2 separate regions of the Homo sapiens genome follow, and region 2 is linked to region 1. The links are contacts of gene promoters, found by promoter capture Hi-C in human tissues and cell types (Jung and others, 2019). All regions are on one chromosome and are shown on one strand. Each heading gives the region's core, a stretch centred on a gene start or on the middle of the fragment in contact. The rest is flanking DNA. Distances are from core to core; before and after follow the strand shown. Region 1 holds the start of KRT5 (keratin 5). Region 2 holds the start of KRT7 (keratin 7).

Region 1 (4,082 bases), core at 1-2,500:
TGCTCCAGGAACCGCACCTGGAGGGGAGCAGGGTTTGAAGATAGAGAAACTTGGATTTCATGTTCTATGATCAACTCACTAAGGTGCCTCCCACCTCTTTCCGTCCCTCTAAAGCTTTTCTGTGCACTGTGCCTGGCCCTGGGCCCCAGGAGGGGAGGTGCAGACTGAGGCACCCAAACTCACTTTTCCAGGGGGAGATAGGACACCTATCCAGGGCACAGAAAGCACTAGGAGTGCTGCTTGGAGTGTGTCCCGGCTCAGGGGTGGCTGCAAAGGCACTCAGGCTGCTGCCCATGCACTTGTCTACCTTCCTGTACAGTCAGCCCCTTTATATATGGCATGAAATTCATCTCTCTGTCCAACAGTTGTTAAGAGGCCCTTGTGAGCTAACCTCTGAATGGGAAGAAATAATTCTCCCTTCCCAGCTGCCAGTCTAATTCAGAACGTGTCCACAAATCCAGGGCACAGAAACAAACGGAAACACAGAACTGTACAACTATAAAAGTATTTGCACAAAGCCAAAACATCTTCCTTCTTTCTCTCTCTTTGGCATTTATTTCAGACCCACAGTGATTTTTTACAAAAGATCGTAGCTCACCTTGTCGATGAAGGAGGCAAACTTATTGTTGAGGGTCTTGATCTGCTCGCGCTCCTCGGTCCTCACCCTCTGGATGCTGGGGTCGATTTGCAGGTTGAGGGGAGTCAGGAGACTCTGGTTGACAGTGACCTCTTGGATACCTCCAGGAGGGCAGACAGGAAAGCCAGGGCCACCGAAGCCACCTCCAAAGCCAGCTCCGCCACCGAGCCCAAAGCCACCACCAGCTCCACCGCCGAAACCAAATCCACTACCGGCACCACCTCCAAAGCCATAGCCGCCTCCAGCACCAGCACCAAACCGGTTCCTGAAGCTGCCACCACTAGTGCTGATGGATATCCTCTTGGAGCCCCCCAGGTTGTAGAGGCTCCGGCTGCCATAGCCACCCACTCCACAAGCACCCGCAAGGCTGACCCTGCCGAAGCCACCACCACCGCCACCCCCGGACCGGGACACGGAGGTGAAGCTGGTGCGGGAGACAGACGGGGTGATGGCAGAGGCGGTGCTGAAGCTACGACTGCCCCCGCTCCGGAAGGACACACTTGACTGGCGAGACATGGTGGCTTGTTCCTGGTGGAGCAAGAGAACCAGGCACTAGTGGGTTGGGAGGTGCTGGAGAGAACAGAGCTCAGCAGGACGCAGAAGGTGGCTCTGTTACCCAGGAACGGTGATGCCCCCTTTTTATCCCTTCCAGAACTGGGCTGGGCGAGAGAGCTGTCGAGCTGTGAATGATTAAGTGGGCTGGGCATGCCTGGGGGGCAGCTGTGAGCTCACCGGTCACACCTGCACAGTGGTGTGGGGTGCAAACGCTTTCTTCCTGGCAGGCTCTGCTCAGTTAGAAATAACCTTGCCTTGCAGCACTGATCTCTTGGCAGCAAGTTGGTGACGCTGCTAGCAAGTATGTCTTCACCATAGAGGCTGGGGGCTGTGAGCAGCCCAAAAAGGATGCCAGGAACTGAGGGGGCATTGGCATGGCCAGTGTCCTGGGGACTCTTACAGGACCAGGAGTATTGACAACCATCCCAGTACGGTACATGCTGAGCACCTGCCCTTCCAGCTTGGGGAAGCTGTCCATCAGCGGGGGGCAAACGATTCCCCAGTGATCTGCTCTTACACTTTTCCAGGCAGCAGGTTGCTGCAGGGTTTTCCCCTCTGGGAAAGGCAATCTGTAGCCTTATATTCTTGGTTATGTGCTAGAGGGAAAATAGAGTTTCATCCTTTTCTGCACAATTTTTTTCTTAGGGAAGGCACAGCTATCCCAGAGCCCACTGGGCAGATCTGCCTGCAAGGTTTAGGCCAGAGAATGTGGGAAGCCCTCAGCGCCCCCTATAAACCACTTTGACCTCTTTAAGGCCAGGTTTATCCTTCCATAGCTCCTCCTAACTCAGCATTTTTTCTGCCCTTTGACCTTTTCCTTGCTCTTTGGCCTGGGCAGGACTCTGTGGGGGGTTTAGGAAACCCGGGGATCCCATGCAATCCCTTAAAAAAAAACCCTGAGACTCATGGGCTATAGCGTCTCTCTTTGGGGGTAGCTACTCTGCCGGTTCCCCAGCCCCCCAGGTGTGTTCCAGCAAGCTCTATTCCACTAGGGAAGAAATGAGTCATCGTATGTGTTGATACAGGCTGAAGGCCGCCACAAACACATACCTGCAGGAGCTTCTAATCTCATCAGGAACATGTTGAGAGTCTGACGGCCTGTTATAACGGCGAACCACCCTGTTCCAAGCAGCGGGACTTGCTCTGCTTTCTCTATGCTGTAGCCCACAGCCTCCTTCAGGGCCAAGGCAATGGAAAACGGGATTCTAAGTCTATGGATTGTCCTGCCAGAAAGGCTAGCCAGAGCAGGCCTGTGGGCCCAGGCAGCTGGCATGACAATCTGCCAGCTGCTTTAGGGAGGGCCCTTTGAGATCCCCTCTGCAAAACTTGTCTGGGGGGTTGTGGCACCAGGTGGAGGAAAGGGGGTTTCTGATGAGGTTTTAACACACGTCTGTTCTAAACCACACCCACTCTTTTTGGCAGCAGATCTGAGTGGGGCCACCTCTCTGCCGTCCCCCAAATAGAAGCAGGGCTCTCAGGCAGGACAGTGCTTGGGCTGTTCAGAGTTTCGGGGGCGCCCTGTGGCCCGAGGCTGGAGGTAGGAATGCAATGGGGATGGCTTCAAAGCCTCAGGGAGGAGGGGCTATATTCTCAAGAGTAGAAGAACAGGACCAGACCCAGGCTCAGGAATCTCTCACCAGGGCCTGCGGTTGGCCACAAGGAAGCCAAGGCAGTGGGAAAATGACTCCCTGGTGCTGAGGATCAGCTGAAACAGTGACTTCTCACCAGAGGGCTGCGATGAGCAAGCAGCTGACAGGTCAATCTCGGCAGACAGACCAATGGCCGGAGCCGGTCTTACAGGTCTTGAGCAAAATGGTTTGGGTGGCCTCCCTGGCTGGAGCATTTCTGAGACCCTCAGAGATGAATTGTGCTGAGCTCACCATTTTCACATTTGGTTGCTTTCTGGAGAACAGATGTGAGTGTCCTGGAGGCCTGAGACATACCAGGGGACCCTCGGCTCCTGATAGAACAGAACAGATCCAAGCCTGAAGCAAGTGTCTGAGGACTCGTAGTGGGATGCTCCTGCTCCACTCAAAGATCGATATCGGGGTATATCCCCACCACCACATACACTCACAGGTCCCGGGTACAGACCTCACTGCCCTCAGGGAAGCCCCACCCCTCCTGAGACACTGGGACATTCTCTTCTCCCCATTCATTCTCCTCCCAGCTGTGTTGTGAAGAAAGAGGACTTGGCAGAGCAGGAATGCGTTCTGGCTAGTCTGAGGATTGCTAGAGTGTGCCAAGCTCAGATCCATGTGCCAGGGACCAACGGTGAGTGTGTGGTGCTCCATGGGAGCAGGGAGCATGTGGGTGCTCCATGGGAGAAGCAGCAGCACTCTTCTATCCGAGCTTCGTGGGAATCCTCCCATGAGCAGGCAGGGCAGCCCCTCCCTCAATGCCAGACCTGGACAGGTATAAATAATGGAGCCGCTCCTGGTGGGGAGCCAGGCACCAGCACCACTGCAGCTCGGGAGAGTCCCACCCCAGCCTGGAATTTCACTGTGGCAGGAAGGGAGGGATTGTGTTAGGCTCACCAGGGAGCTTTCCTGCTGGGCACCCCACAGAGGCAGTTCCCAGGCTTGGTGGGACATGTTGCTCAGCTTCTCCTCTGGGTGCTGCTTTCCTTGTCAGCAGAAGACAGTGCAGGGCCCGCCCTGCTGCTCTCCCCATCAGAGAAAGGACAGTAAGCTGGCTGCCCTGACCTCTCTCGCAGAGCTGTGCAGGGAATGTAGGACCTGGTCAGCATTTCATACATGGAGAAGCCCTTCACAGACACCAGGGAGAGGGTGGTATCCATTCGTGGAACAAGGGTTAGGCAAATCCTGCCATCCCAGCCCAGGATTCCTTCTCCTCAGAGCCTCCACTCCAATCTGTAGGGCTTTAGTAG
Region 2 (3,736 bases), core at 45-2,544, 290 kb before region 1:
ACCCTTGTCTCCCCCAAGGGCTTAGGTCTGAGGTAACGAACCTGGCCAGCTTATTGGGAGGGGCTAGAGGTGGGCTAAGGGCAGACGGAAGCCAGGCCTGAGAACAGGGTGTGGCAAGCATGGCTGGCCCTACCGGGAAGTGAGGCCAACACTCAGGCTTTGTCCGGTATTCGGTTCCAGCACTAGGATTACCCCTCTTGACTGGGTTTGAAACTGCTGGGAATTGTTTGGTGGTGGCTTCACGGGAGAAAGATGATGAAAGCTGAGGGCCTTTAAACAGGAAAATGGTGGAGGGAGCGGGAGGAGAGTTGAGTGCTAACAGAAGCACACGCACTCAGGCAGGCATGAAAATGTGTGCCATTGTGTAGCCACAGCTGCCCCCTCGCCCAGGATGCACGCACAGACCCCCATCTGTGTAAGCAGGCTCAGACATGCGGGTGCATATGCCTGGGGGTGTGAGCACAGCAGAGCCCAGAGGCCTGCAGGCGTGTGCACACATCCACAAAGTGTCCACACATCCACAAAGTGTCACAAATACACACAAGTGTCCCCTTCCTGTACAGGGACGCATAAAATAAATGGGCAGGAATATGAGTGGAGGGTCCGGGAGGTGAGGGTCCAGGGTAAGCATTCCCAAGGTCCCTGGGATTCCGATGCCTACTGGAGTGGGGAGGGGAGGAGCCAGAGGTGCGGTCGGTCGTGTGTCTCTCTCAGCCTAGTTTCTATGGGAAATGAAGTAGGAAGGAACGCAGCCAGGGAAACTAGCTGGGCCAGGAGGGGTCAGACCCCTGAACAAGTGAGCTGATCTCTCAAGGAGGAGCTGGATCGGTGTGAGGGAGAGCGGTAAGGAATGCCTTTCTGGCTTCAGCAGCCTGGAGGATGGGGACGTCTGGGCGTTGACTCCTGGGTTGGAACTTTTCAGCCCACCCCTTCCCCCAGTCTCTTGCCACTGGGTCTCTCTGCTTGGGCCTCAGGGATCTCTAGGTTCTTCACTCCCTCTCCAAGCATCCTCCTCCGGGAAGCCTTCCCTCACTGAGTCCGTTTCCAATGGGCTGGAACTGCGGTCCCCCGCTGTTCTCTGCGGCCGTCTAGGGATGGCGCTCCTGCCTACTCCGGACCATCCCTGCTTGGACTGAAAGCCTGGGCTTCGGCGGGGCGGGCGGGCAGAGGGCGGAGGGCGGCCCCAGGAGGGGCCTGGCAGCAGAGAAAGGTGGCCCGCGGCAGCCCCGCCCCTACCTGTGGAAGCCCAGCCGCCCGCTCCCGCGGATAAAAGGCGCGGAGTGTCCCCGAGGTCAGCGAGTGCGCGCTCCTCCTCGCCCGCCGCTAGGTCCATCCCGGCCCAGCCACCATGTCCATCCACTTCAGCTCCCCGGTATTCACCTCGCGCTCAGCCGCCTTCTCGGGCCGCGGCGCCCAGGTGCGCCTGAGCTCCGCTCGCCCCGGCGGCCTTGGCAGCAGCAGCCTCTACGGCCTCGGCGCCTCACGGCCGCGCGTGGCCGTGCGCTCTGCCTATGGGGGCCCGGTGGGCGCCGGCATCCGCGAGGTCACCATTAACCAGAGCCTGCTGGCCCCGCTGCGGCTGGACGCCGACCCCTCCCTCCAGCGGGTGCGCCAGGAGGAGAGCGAGCAGATCAAGACCCTCAACAACAAGTTTGCCTCCTTCATCGACAAGGTGAGCGGGACTGGACCTCGCCTCTCCTCGAGCCGCGCTCCAGACCACACCAGCCGCCCTAACTAGCCCTGCCTGCGCGCGGGCCAGGCGCTGGGGAGCACTGCCGCCCTTCTGTCTTTCCGCCAGTGTTGGGGACACGATCTGGGGGTCCTTCCTCCTTCGCATGAACCCCGTGGCTATTTTATCCCCTCGGTTTCCAAGCCCTCCCTTCCAGCAAGCTGCCCAGCTGCCCCTCCCTTTCCTCCCGGAGTGCGGGCCTGAGTCCTGTAGGGCTGCCCTCGCTGGCTGCCTGTTGGTCACCTGGACCAGTTTTGCCTCGGACTAGGAGTTCCAGAGGCCTAGGCCAGGAGTTCTCTCTCTGGGACCCTTTCCCTGAGAGAGGACCGTGTGGAGTCAGGAATGGAGTTGGATGGCACGCCCTTCCCAGAGGGGGAGACCCAGGCTCTCTCAGATGCTGATGCGGATGCAGATGCTGGAGATTAGAGCGGCAGTCGGTGGGGCGGGGGAGGGGGGGGGGCTCCCGCCCCTCCCCTCCCCCACCTGCCTGGTCCTCCAGCCTCCCTTAGGTGGCAGGAGGAGAGGTTATACCTGCCCTTGAAGACAGCCCAGTTGGGGGCAGGGAGTGGCAGAGAGGGCCCTCAAAAAGGGGTCCATTTTGGAGATATTTTTCCTGGCTGTTGGCCTCCGCCACACATGGGGCCGCTGGAGGGGGCGAGGGCAGACTTGACTGGTGGGTTTGGGAGGAGTGCTGCCAAAGCCAGGAACTCAGGGCTGGCCCTGCTGGGCTGTTCTGGCCAGGGCCCCCTTCCTCAGCTTAGACGAAGTGTACTCCCACACCCGCCTCCCTCACGTTCTCCTTTCCTTCGCCATTCACCCAGACCGGTCTTTTAGATTTCATAGGGGCCTCCCCAAGCTGCTCCAGGCCCAGGTTCCCCCATGTGTTGAGCTGCACCGTCTTACTCTCTGTGGTCCCCAGGGCCTGGGGCCCTGAGCTGCTGGTTTTGCAGAGGCCTCTATTGCCTCCCACCTCCAGTCATACCGGCTACTCCTTAAGGGCCTTTGTGGGCTCCAGGCTGGGGTCATTTTACCATGGATTGACTGTCCTGAGGCCTTGCTGGAGAAAGGGGAAGGAGAGAAAGGATATTGAGGAAGGAAGAGAAGAGGTCCCAGACAGAAGGGAGGGCTGGGCCTGGTCATCCTCATGATCCATTGACAGGAAGAGGTGGCTGTTCAGATAGGGAGGTGGAGAACACCACCTGTAATGTGATGGGGAGTGAAGTGGAGAGGAGGCCCTGGAGCACATTCGTCGAGAGTCAACCACGGGGCACTTCCGTGCACCAGGCAGACCTGCTTCCTGGATCACTCTGTAGGACACTTGATTTGGAGTCCAAAGGGAGAGGGCTGGAAGCCCCAGGCAGGGAAACAGCCAGGGGGAGCATGGCTCTGCTAAGTGGCTAAAGATGATGTTCCTCAATCCCGCTGTGGGTGGCACGCTCTGGCTCCTCTTGAGTTTCCTCCTTCTCGCCCGTTCTAGGTGCGGTTTCTGGAGCAGCAGAACAAGCTGCTGGAGACCAAGTGGACGCTGCTGCAGGAGCAGAAGTCGGCCAAGAGCAGCCGCCTCCCAGACATCTTTGAGGCCCAGATTGCTGGCCTTCGGGGTCAGCTTGAGGCACTGCAGGTGGATGGGGGCCGCCTGGAGGCGGAGCTGCGGAGCATGCAGGATGTGGTGGAGGACTTCAAGAATAAGTAATGCCCCCTGTGCCACATGCGAAGACCCCTGCCCCGGGCCAATGTGACCCTCATGAGCTGACCCTGTGCAAGTCCCCCTGCTTCAGGAATCAGCATGCAGCTGCTCAGTCCAATAACTCCCTGAGGGGCCAGTCTTGACCAACACATTTCCTGCCTTTCCTCTCTCCTCTTTGTCCCTGGGGGCTGTTTCCAAATCATTCTGGTCTTTTCCCCTGACTCAGTCCCAGTGAAATGTCTCAGCCCAGCCCTGACCTGCACTGTCTCCTTTGGGTGTCTGACCAAGGCCCCGAGAGAGAGTAGGGCAGAAAGTGTCTT

Evidence for each region. Contacts are between HindIII fragments. The study calls those that stand out against the background at their distance.
Region 2: the fragment with the promoter of KRT7 here is called in contact with the fragment with the promoter of KRT5 in region 1 in 1 of the 25 tissues and cell types used here (spleen).

What each region holds. Positions count from the first base shown.
Region 1 is chr12:52,519,144-52,523,225 of GRCh38, forward strand. KRT5 (keratin 5) reads right to left here and starts at 1,251. Exons shown (of 9, transcript NM_000424.4): 1 at 599-1,251; 2 at 1-17. The coding sequence starts at 1,153. RefSeq lists enhancers at 1-338, 3,158-4,082. The HindIII fragment of the contact is 8,601 bases long and covers 1-4,082 here.
Region 2 is chr12:52,231,949-52,235,684 of GRCh38, forward strand. It overlaps KRT7 (keratin 7), which reads left to right and starts at 1,295. Exons shown (of 9, transcript NM_005556.4): 1 at 1,295-1,672; 2 at 3,207-3,418. The coding sequence starts at 1,349. It also overlaps the pseudogene TMT1AP1. RefSeq lists an enhancer at 1,881-2,856. The HindIII fragment of the contact is 11,918 bases long and covers 1-3,736 here.